3 separate regions of the Homo sapiens genome follow, and all the other regions are linked to region 1. Evidence: promoter capture Hi-C in human tissues and cell types (Jung and others, 2019). All regions are on one chromosome and are shown on one strand. Each heading gives the region's core, a stretch centred on a gene start or on the middle of the fragment in contact. The rest is flanking DNA. Distances are from core to core; before and after follow the strand shown. Region 1 holds the start of GCSH (glycine cleavage system protein H). Region 2 overlaps CMIP (c-Maf inducing protein). Region 3 overlaps CMIP (c-Maf inducing protein).

Region 1 (3,515 bases), core at 656-3,155:
CAGTGGCGTGATCTCGACTCACTGCAACCTCTGCCTCCCAGGCTCAAGTGATTCTCGTGCCTCAGCCTCCTGAGTAGCTGGGATTACAGGCACCTGCCACCATGCCTGGCTAAACTTTGGATTTGTAGTAGAGACGGGGGTTTCTCCATGTTGGCCAGGTTGGTCTCGAACTCCTGACCTCAAGTGATTCACCTGCCTCACTTAGTCACAGGATGAGCTAGGGTTGGCACAAGATACAGGTCACAAAGTCCCTGCTGATAAAATAGGATGCGGTAAAGGAGCTGGCCAAAACTCACCAAAACCAAGATGGCGACCTCTGGTAGGTCTCACTGCTCATTATACGCTAATTATAATGCATTAGCATGTTAAAAAAAAAACAACTCCCACCAGCGTCATGACAGTTCACAAATGCAATGGCAACGTCCAGAGAAGTTACCCTATAGTCCAAAAAGCGGAGGAACCGTTAGTTCTAGGAAATCCCTGCCCCTTTTCTGGAGAACTCTTGAATGATCCACCCCTTGTTTAGCATACAATCAAGAAATAACTATAAGTACACTTAGTCGAGAAGCCATACTGCTGCTCTGTCTACGAAGAAGCCATTCTTTTTTTTCTTTACTTCTCTATTAAACGTGCTTTCACTTTATAGACTCTCCCCAAATTCTTTCTTGCATGAGGTCCAAAAACCCTCTCTTGGGGTCTGGATTGGGAGCCCTTTCTGTAACAGTACTAAAGGTGTGTGTGTAGCTTAAGGTGTTTTTCAGAACAGTATTTCTTTGCTGACTCATGGCCACTCCATAAAATCTGTGTTAAAGGTGAGGTTTTTCCCAGAACCTAATTTTTTTCTGACTTCTTGGATTGGGATGATGACTTCGGCTTTTCTCGGAAGGCCTTGGTCACACCGCTGGCCGATGAAACAAGGAATTGTGCACACTGGGTCTCAGCTCTCTGCGTTTTGAATATTTCTGCATTAGTGACTGGCTTGGGTCCAGTCTCCACCAAGAAGCCACTTATGACCCTTGGACAAGTCTTTATTCCTTTTTAAGTAAGCTTCTGGATTCTGCCGGTCCTGTTTGGGGTCCCTGGGGCTCTTTGAGACAGGAACGTTACAGAGCAGTTGAAGGAGAATAGAAACTTCCAGGCTGCAGTTCTGTCTAACAAAAGGAAACTGTTGAAATAGCTGCACAAGCTATGGGCTAAGACCCTGAAAAACCAGGGTGTGGGTCAACCTGGCTAAAACCAACTGGACCCAACGTGGTGTGGCTTTGACCTAGGCTTCACCTAGGACTCATTAACATACTAAGTCACACACCCACCGGCACCACAACAATTCCGGGAACACCCATATTTGGTGTAAAAATGGGTGGCACCACAGTTCTGACAAGTCTCCACCTTATTCCAGAAACCTTTGTGTATATTCCATTTCTCAAAGAAACCCATAAAGATGGAAACCCCAAGCCCCATTGTGTGGCCCTCTTTTGAGTCCGCCCTTTCTTCAGTGTGTACTTTGCAGTAAACCTCTGTACTTTCACGACTTTCCGACTTGTTCTTGAATTCCTTCGTGAGGTGGTGAAACCACCTTTGAAAACTTATGACAGAGGCAGTAAAAGAGATACACATGTGGAAAGGAACCCAGTCTGGGGCTAGGCCCCGCCCCCCTCCTGCGGGCAGCCCAATCATACCCAGGCCCGCCGCGCTAGTCTCCGCCTCTCGGTGCTGCCTCTTCCGGGCCTCAGGTTCTTCCCCATGCCCACGCCCCTCTTTCGCGTCGCCGTATCCGAGGTCGCGCCAGGCCCTGGAGTCCCCAGTCTCCGCGTGCTGGCCAATCAGACCCTGCCTCGCCCCCTCGCCTGGGAGTCTCCGCCCTCCACGCTCTGCCCAGTCAGGCTCTGTCCCGCCCCCGCGGCACCGCCTCCGCGCCTCCATCCAGCCGGCTCCCTCCGGCCGCGAACTGCCCCTCCCCGCCCCGCCTCCCGGCGCGGGTGGCCGAGGCGTAGCGCTGCGACCCCCGCACCCCTGCGAACATGGCGCTGCGAGTGGTGCGGAGCGTGCGGGCCCTGCTCTGCACCCTGCGCGCGGTCCCGTCACCCGCCGCGCCCTGCCCGCCGAGGCCCTGGCAGCTGGGGGTGGGCGCCGTCCGTACGCTGCGCACTGGACCCGCTCTGCTCTCGGGTAAGCGCGGCGGGCACGTGGGCGGCTGCTCCCTCCCCGCCTGGGCTGCTTGTCCCGGGCCCAGCGGGACACGGAGGACGCCGGGGCACCGCTCCTGAGCCACCGGGGCGGAGCGAGCGCGGACCCTGCCCCCTTCTTATTTCTGTTGGGATCCCTGGCTCTGCGGCCGCTTCTCCCCCTTAAGTAGCGGGAGGACCCGCGAGTAGCCTTTGCCCTAGGGATTGCATGCAGCCGGGAGGGGAGGCCTGCGGGACACCGAGGCGGGGGTGGCCCGGCGGGTCCGGCGGGCAGGTCGGCCGCTTGCTGCAGAAGCCAGGCACGTGTCGCTTAAGCGTCTCGGTGGCCTTAAGTTTATCTCCCATCTGCGTGCATCGTTGAGACCCCAAATGGGGAGGCCTTTAGTTTACTAAATGGACCGTTACTGAGAACTCCGAAGTAAAATTAAAACAGAAGCGCTTATTAAAATTAAAGCACCAGGCAGGGCGCGTTGGCTCATGCCGGAGGGCGGATCACGAGGTCAGGAGATCGAGACTATCCTGGCTAACACGGTGAAATCCCATCTCTACTAAAAGTACAAAAAATTAGCCAGGCGTGGCGGCATGCGCATGTAATCCCAGCTACTCGGGAGGCTGAGGCAGGAGAATCGCTTGAACCTGGGAGGCAGAGGTTGCAGTGAGCCGAGATCGCGCCACTGCACTCCAGCCTGGGCGACAGAGCAAAACTCCACCTCAAAAAAAAAAAAAAAAAAAAAAATTAAAGCGCCAGATCTAGATTTTTTTACTAGATAAAACAATCATAACTTTGAAGATTCAGCTATTTCCCCAAAACAAGTAAGATAAAGTCTTCTGGACTCAACAGAAGTTCTGCTAAAGTTTGTATTGGATCATTCATGTGTGTGCTTGCTGAAATGAGCCCTAACTCAAACGGACTTGAAATAACTGGGAAACCTGCCCATGAATGTTTCGGCCATTTGTGCTACTTCAGCACAATTATTGCAGGGGAAAAACAATTTTCTTTTTTTTTTTTTTTCTTTTTATTGAGACGGAGCCTCGCTCTGTCGCCCAGGCTGGAGTGCAGCGGCGTGATCTCGGCTCACTGCAAGCGCCACCTCCCAGATTCAAGCGATTCTCTTGCCTCAGCCTCCCGAGTAGCTGGGTTCACTGGCGCCCGTCACCACCTCCAGCTGAGTTTTGTATTTTTAGTAGAGACAGGGTTTCGCCACGTTAGGCTGGTCTCAAACTCCTGACCTCAAGTGATCCACCCGCCTCAGCCTCCCAAAGTGCTGAGATTACAGTCGTGCGTCACCGCGCCAGGCCAACAATTTTCTTTACGCCCAAATGTTTGAT
Region 2 (3,577 bases), core at 621-3,120, 530 kb before region 1:
ACCCCACACACCACACACACACACTCATAAGCCACCCACACACCACACACACACGCACACCGTCACCCCACACACCACTCACACACTCATAAGCCACCCACACACCACACACACATGCACACCCATAGTCACCCCACACACCACACACACACATGCTCAGTCACCCCACACATTCATAAAAGTCACCCCACATGCCACACATACACACACACACTCATAAGATAGTCATCCCACACCCCACACACACTCATAGTCACCCCACACGCCACACACACTCATAAAATAGTCACCACACATACTCAAAACAGTCACCTCACACACCACACACAGACACACCAGTCACCTCACCACACTCATAAAATAGTCACCCCACACAACACACAGTCACACTCAGTCACTCTCGCTCTCACACACACTCACACATTCACTCTTACACACATTCTCACGCGCACACACACTCACTCTCACACTCACACACCCCACATTCTTTTCCACCTTTCTCCACAGAGGAGGGACAGAGGCCTGGGCCTGGATGCGGTGATCGAGGGGCTGTGGCCACCCTAGGGGGCTGGGAAACCTGCCCAGCAAGAAGAAGGCAGCGTGGCCAGGGCAGGCAGCCAGAAAGGATCCAAAGCTGGGCTGGGATTTTCCCAGAGCCAAGGGCACTCCTCTGGCCCTGGCAGCCCTGGGACAGGAATACAGGCCAGCTTCTTGTGACACACAGTCTGCTCATTGGTCCCCGGCTCTGGGGCTTGGCCCCTGGGGCTGTTCTGAGTGACCTCACTTCCCCTGGGGAAAAACCATCTTGGTTTCCAGGACTAGTGTGCCTCGGCCTGAGGAACCCCTCTCAGGAAGCGAGAAGGTGGAGAGGCACCAGGAGCTCCAGCTCCCATAGCAGGTGCATCCTGGCTTCTCGGGGCTCCTCTAGGAGCCTGGTGTGTGTCTCCTCACAGCCCAGTAGCCTGGACCTGTCACCTGGGCCTGTTCACATGGACAGACTTGTCCCTCACAGCTGTGCATACCTGGGTCTCTCACCTTGAAACCCTGGACACAGAAACAGGCCAATCTTCTCAATGCTTTGTAAACACACACGGTCCCCTCACAGCCTGAACACGCTCTTGGCCTTGCCCCACAGACTGGGCCTTCATGGCCTCGTGTGCACACAGGCCTGTGCCCTCACAGCCTCATGTGCAGACAGGCCTGTCACCACAGGGCTTGGCCTCTGAGGGCCAGGGCATGAGCCAGGAGGTACATCTGAGTCAGAAATGAAGCCTCATTAACCCAGAATAACTATTTAATGCTTCCACACCCCTGGGAATTAGCCTCAAGGGCTGAACCACCCAAACCAAACAGGGCTGGCCTCCCCAGGGGCCCTCAGGACTGCAGCTTCTGCTCTAGCGAATGCTGGGAGGTGGAGCAGCCATGGGCTGGGAGATCCTGGCCCTCCTCCTGCAGGCTCCAGGCCTCCTCAGATCTCCCAGACCAACATGGCAGAGGCCAGGCCGGGAGGGCTGGGAGGAAGAGCAGAGCTGCTCAGAGAAAGAGGCAAAGATGTTCAGGGTCTAATCCCGCTTGCCTTCTTGGTGGCCTTGGAACCTTGTGCGACTGACTTATCCTCTCTACACTCAGGTTTCCCCATCTGCAAATGTTGATAAGAACAGAACCTATTCAGTGAGAGGAAGTAATTCACAAAATGCAGTGTCCATTGCCGAGCAAACTCCTCCAACATGGGAGCTACAACCGTGTGTGAACAGCTCAAAGTTCTGAGCTGATGCCACAAAAACAACACTGTTACCCAGACGGAAAAGCGTGACCAAGATGACCTGGATATTTGCCTTCTTCCACAAAACAATTTGAGGTCAATTCCATAGCAGCGGTTGTCAATCGACCCTGTTATCATGACTGTCCCCATAAGGAACCCTAGTGTCTCCCTCATCTGTCCTCCCTTTGGAAGAAATACTCAAGAATAAGATTTCATTGAATAGGGTCGAGCTTTGGAGGGCCACAGACTATTGTAATCATTAAGATTTGTTTAAGTGTCAAGGAACCAATTTTGGTCCCATTAGGGGTGATGCTGCCCCTGTTGGGAATGGCCTAGAGATGCAAGTCCAACTTGATCAAAACTAAGCAATGGGGACACAGTATTTAGGAGGTGGCATTTTTTTTTTTTTTTTTTGAGACGGAGTCTCGCACTTTCGCCCAGGCTGGAAGTGGCATTCTTTACATACAGGAGAACGTATTCTGACAGTATGTGCACCGCAGCCACAGGAGACAAATGTATATTGGTGTAGGAGAGAAAATGACAAAAACAAGATAGCATTAGGAGATATACCTAACGTTAAATGACAAGTTAATGGGTGCAGCACACCAACATGGCACATATATACATATGTAACAAACCTGCACGTTGTGCACACGTACCCTAAAACTTAAAGTATAATAATAAAAACAAAAGAGAGTTAAAAAATTCAAGCTGAGGTGGTGGAATTTCTAAAGGTCCTCAATTTTGATGTTCCACTGATTTTTTTTTTTTTTCAGTTAAAGACAGAGAAAAGAGAAAAGAAACAAGGAAGGAAAAGAAAAAGAAAAACCTCAAATAGGTGGTTGTAAATAAAGAGGGGAGAGAGAGTGGCTGTATCAGCAGAAGCAGAGGGGTTATGTCCTGGGAGGGCTGTGGAGTCCCAATCTCAGAGAAAAGCACGGTGTGATCAAGGAGGAGGTAGGACAGCCCCACAGATCTGGATTGAAATCTGCTGGGCAACTGTAGGCAAGTCACTTGATCTCTCTGAGCCTTGGTTCTATTACCTGCTTAACGACAATGAACCAGAAATGACCTAGCCAGCCCTGGCATCTCACATGTACTCAGTAACTGCATCTGTATTAGGTGAACACTTTCTGGAATCTGCCCACAGAACCAGGATCCAAATTCACGTTTCCCAGCTAATTTGGCTAGCTGGCGGTACCTCCAAAACACCTTACGTTTCTTTGCCATTTTAAAAGGAAGGAGAGCATGCCTTCTCAAATATCACCAAAACTGGGTACAAAGAGCCACAGGAATTGAGATCAAGTTGCCAACACTGAAATATCACTGCCACCTGGTGGCAGCATACCTAAATTATTGGGGGGCAATTGTCCAAGGAGAAACACTGTGTCTGAAGCATGCTGTAGACACAGCCAAAGCTTACACCCTGAGAGCAAAGACTACCATTGATCACCTGGCAAGTGGGCCAGCACACACCCAGGCATCTGCCAGTTCCTTGACATCCTGATTTAGGTTTTCTGAAAATTTTTTAAACTGCTTGATTAAATTTAGCAACCATAAATAAACCGGATGCCACCATAATTGAATGCAAACATCCAGGTCTTCATGAGAGCTGCTAGAAACACAGTGATCCCAGTTCTGGACTTGCTCAATCAACTGTCTGAATCCCACATGCAAACCTTAACATTTTTGGGGTGGGGCATGGGGGTCTCACTCTATCACTCAGGTTGGAGTGCAGTGGACCAATCTTGGCTCACTACAACCTCCATCTCCTGGGCTCAAGTGATCCTCCCACCTCAGCCTCCCAAGTAGCTG
Region 3 (3,620 bases), core at 570-3,069, 610 kb before region 1:
GAATAGGGAGGAGAGTGCAGAGGTGAAGGAGGAGGGTGTGGGGGACTGCAGCAGGGCGGGAGGACGTACCTGAGTGGACCACAGGTTCAGCTGCTTGAGCGAAGGCAGTTTGATGAGGTGCTCGGCGCAGGCACTGGTTACATTGGTGAAGGCCAAACTGAGGTTCTCCAGGTTTCCGAAGGAGCCGGAGCTCAGCAAACGAGCCAAGTCAGCGTCCTGCGGGCAGACGGGGGAGAGGCCTGAGGGTGCTGCTGGGAGTTCCCGAGACCCTGAGCCCTCCTATCCCCTATCCTCCTCCTCTCCCCTCGCCCTACAGAGAGCTGTTCCTGGGGGGCGGTAAATCCCAGGAGCTGAGATGGGGGCACAGCTCGGTGGGATGGGCCAAGGGGGTGGCCAGAGAGGGAGGGGCTGCCACGCATCCCATGGACGACAGCTGCCAGGCGGAGGAGAAAGCCTCCAGTGCTGTGACTCACACCCTGAGGCACCAGCGGGGTGTTCCAAGGCCACGATCCTCCCACAGGCGTCTGTGTGTGTGTGTGTCTGTGTGTGTGTGCCTGTATGTGTGTATATCTGTGTGTGTCTGTGTGCACGTTTGTGTATGCATGTGTCTGTACATGTGTGTGTCTGTGCACGTCTGTGTATATTTGTGTGTGTGTGTGTTGGTGTGTCTCTGTGTGTCTGTGTCTGTGCATCAGGGTGTGTGACTGGCTGCCTCACTCCTGGGCAGCAGCTCATGCCAACACTGAGGCCACACTCAACTCTAATGCCTGAAGACACCAGCGCATGCCTGAGCACCGGACTGGGAGGTTCCTAAGACAACCTCCACACTCCCCTCCATCCTTGAGTGTCAGCGGCCCTGTGGCTGCCCGGAATGAAGGCTGATTTAGTGTGTGGCCCCACACACTAAATCTGGAAAATGGGATGTAAGTAGACATGTCAAGTAGAACTTCCAGGAAGTTTCTTAAGAGGAAGGGGCACGTTCTCCTTCCTGCTGGCTGGAATGGAGACAAGAGGTCTGGAGCCTGAGCAGCCCTTTTGGTCCAGGAAGTAGAAGCCATGTGTCAAATATAATGGGGGCATCAGAATAGAAGGAAATAAGACCCTTAAAGACCTTGTGAAATGCGAATGGTAAGATACACAAGCTTCCAAGGGTTGCTGTGAGGATAAAACAAACTAATAGAAGAGCATCTGACACACAAATGCTCAAGGTATATCTGCTATTATTCCAAGTACTATTAATAACTAGATATCAACACTATTATCACCAACAATCTGTATCATATTTTAACTTCCTTTTTGGTTTTCATTTCTCTTCCTGTAACCCAGCTACCTCCTGGAAGAGCTGGCGTGTTAAGTACTAGGGGGTCCTTGTGCCCCGCCCTCCATCACCTCCCATCTCAGCAGCAGACACCACCTGCCGTTCCCCAACAGAGAGGACCAACCCACCTTCTCCATCCAGCCCCAAAGAGAACCAAACCAACTCACTGTGGACTTGGAGGGCAGTGTTAGCCTGGTGGGCCCGCCTTTCCTTTGCTGCAACAGAAACCAGGCTGGTTACAACCATTCTTTTCCCCAAGTTTCCATTCTAGACTTCCACCTCTGTTAACAACACTCATGGAGCCATCGTTATTTTCTTGGTGGTACAAGGCAACACGGTGGTCTTGGTCTCAGGGGCAAACCCGGAGATGAGGTTTGAGCACAGGTGGTTTACTGGAGGGTGATCCCAAGAAACACCAGTGGGAGAGTGGGGAAGTGACACTGTGGCTACCTATAATGGAAGGGGTGTTATCAATCCAGCTATCACTGGGTGGGTACTGGCACCAAATCCCACCGGGGGACTCTAAGAAATGGTGGAGAAGCCATGTCTCAAACATATCTCACTGAAGGGGTGAGGGAGCTGGGGTATTTCTACACACTCTCCCCAGAAGGGACTGGTTGAGGGCTGCTCCAGGAGATCAGAAGGCATGAATTTCCTGCCCCTTCCGTCCTTCTGTGTACACATGTGTGAGTATATGCATGTGGACATACAAAGTCCTTCAGCAAAGAGGTGTGGGTGCTGGCATTTGGAAGTTGGGTCCCCCATGTACTGAAATGGAAGGGTCTAAGGGACATGGAGGAGGGAGGGTGGGCAATGTCCTGGCCAGGCCCCAATGAGCTGTGTGACTCTGGGGATTGCTTTGCTTCTCTTTGATTACCTGAAAAGTGGCAGGTGGTAATACCAATTTCTGGGGTTTGGAGGAGAATTCAACGAGATTGAGGTCCACTCAGGTCCAAGTACTAGCTGCCCCGCATCCCGCCCTGGCCCCCCCTGGCCTGCTGGGCAGGGGAGTGGTCCGGAGCAGCCGGGGACTCACCAGCTCCTTCAGCTCCCGCTGCCGGTCACACAGCTGCTCGTACATGCGCTTCCCCACGTCTGTGCTCTCCAGGGTTGAGATGATCTGCAGTTGGGTGTCGTTGTTGTCGATGATGTTGTATTCCAGCATCAAGCACAGGATCTGTCCAGAACCGCAGGGGTGCATTACGGACCCGGCCTGCCACCCTAGCTCAGCACACTCTGTGCACCCCAAGGGCCTTGTTTTGAAAACCAGCAACCCCACTATCCCCTTTCTGCAGCCCCGGCTGTGTAAGCCTGGGCAAATCACCTGCCCAACTTCCTGCTTGTACAATGGTAGCACCAGTGACCACGCACTGAGGTTCTCCAGGTTCAAATGTCAATGGACATGGGAGTCTCCCAGGCATCTGCTTACCGTGCGGTGTCTGGACATGGGGCAGGCCCCCGGGGGATGTTTGCAGGCCCCTGAGCACTGGTGGAAAGGCCAGAAGTTAAGACACCTCTCTCTCCCCAGTTCCTTCCCCAGTGGCTGTCATGAAGTAGGTGCTCAAACTCACGGAATGGCTCAGAGCCCTGGGCCCATCTACCACACAGCTTCCTAGAGGGCCTCATGACTGCACATGTGGCTCTTCGGCCTGGGGGTCAACACGCCTGACAGCCCTGCCTCTGACATTCCCTTTCCAATGACGATTTTTTTTTTTTTTGAGATGAGGTCTTGCTATGTTGCCCAGGCTAGTTTCAACCTCCTGGGCTCAAGTGATCCTCCTACCTCAGCATCCCAAGTTGCTGGAACTACAGGTGCATGCCATGGTGCTCAGTTCTAGAACTTCTCACTCACCAAGGAGCAGGTCACTCAGCCCACGCTTCTCACAGCGCCTCTTGCCTGTCTCCTGTCTCCCTGCTCAGCCCTCCCCCATGGCCTCCGAATCCCTGTCACAGGACAGCCAAGATTAAATCCAAACTCCTTCCCAGCACCTCTAGGTACCCAGAAGGCTCTTCATGCCCATCCAGCCACATCCCAGACCTCTTGCCCCTTGGCTCCCTGTGTTCCAGCCACCCTGGCCTCCAGCAAGCCTCCGCCCGGGATGTCCCCACAGCCTGCTCAGCTCCCACCTTCCCGCTGCCTCTTCCCCAGGGCTCACATCTGCCCGAACTCTCATTTCCACGGGAGCTCCCATGGCTTTGCTGCGCCTGCCAACTCTTCGATGCTCTTCCCACTGAGGGGTGAAGTCTAGCTCCCACGGCTTTGACTGAGGGCCGGCCGCGGTGACTCACTGCCAGCAGGAGG

Evidence for each region. The method cuts DNA at HindIII sites, captures the fragments that hold promoters and counts their contacts. A contact is called where the count stands out against the background at its distance.
Region 2: a contact is called between a fragment that was not itself captured here and the fragment with the promoter of GCSH in region 1, in 2 of the 25 tissues and cell types used here (dorsolateral prefrontal cortex and mesenchymal stem cells).
Region 3: a contact is called between a fragment that was not itself captured here and the fragment with the promoter of GCSH in region 1, in 1 of the 25 tissues and cell types used here (dorsolateral prefrontal cortex).

Annotation. Positions count from the first base shown.
Region 1 is chr16:81,094,785-81,098,299 of GRCh38, reverse strand. GCSH (glycine cleavage system protein H) reads left to right here and starts at 1,905. Exons shown (of 5, transcript NM_004483.5): 1 at 1,905-2,169. The coding sequence starts at 2,022. RefSeq lists silencers at 1,569-1,668, 1,819-2,488. The HindIII fragment of the contact is 10,346 bases long and covers 1-3,515 here.
Region 2 is chr16:81,623,088-81,626,664 of GRCh38, reverse strand. All of the region lies in intron 3 of CMIP (c-Maf inducing protein), which reads right to left. Among named protein-coding and RNA genes, the nearest start is that of MIR6504, 14 kb to the right of the region's middle. RefSeq lists enhancers at 464-653, 3,168-3,237 and a silencer at 2,998-3,047. The HindIII fragment of the contact is 4,466 bases long and covers 1-3,577 here.
Region 3 is chr16:81,700,535-81,704,154 of GRCh38, reverse strand. It overlaps CMIP (c-Maf inducing protein), which reads right to left. Exons shown (of 21, transcript NM_198390.3): 16 at 2,355-2,495; 17 at 1,486-1,533; 18 at 70-216. Among named protein-coding and RNA genes, the nearest start is that of PLCG2, 77 kb to the left of the region's middle. The HindIII fragment of the contact is 8,091 bases long and covers 1-3,620 here.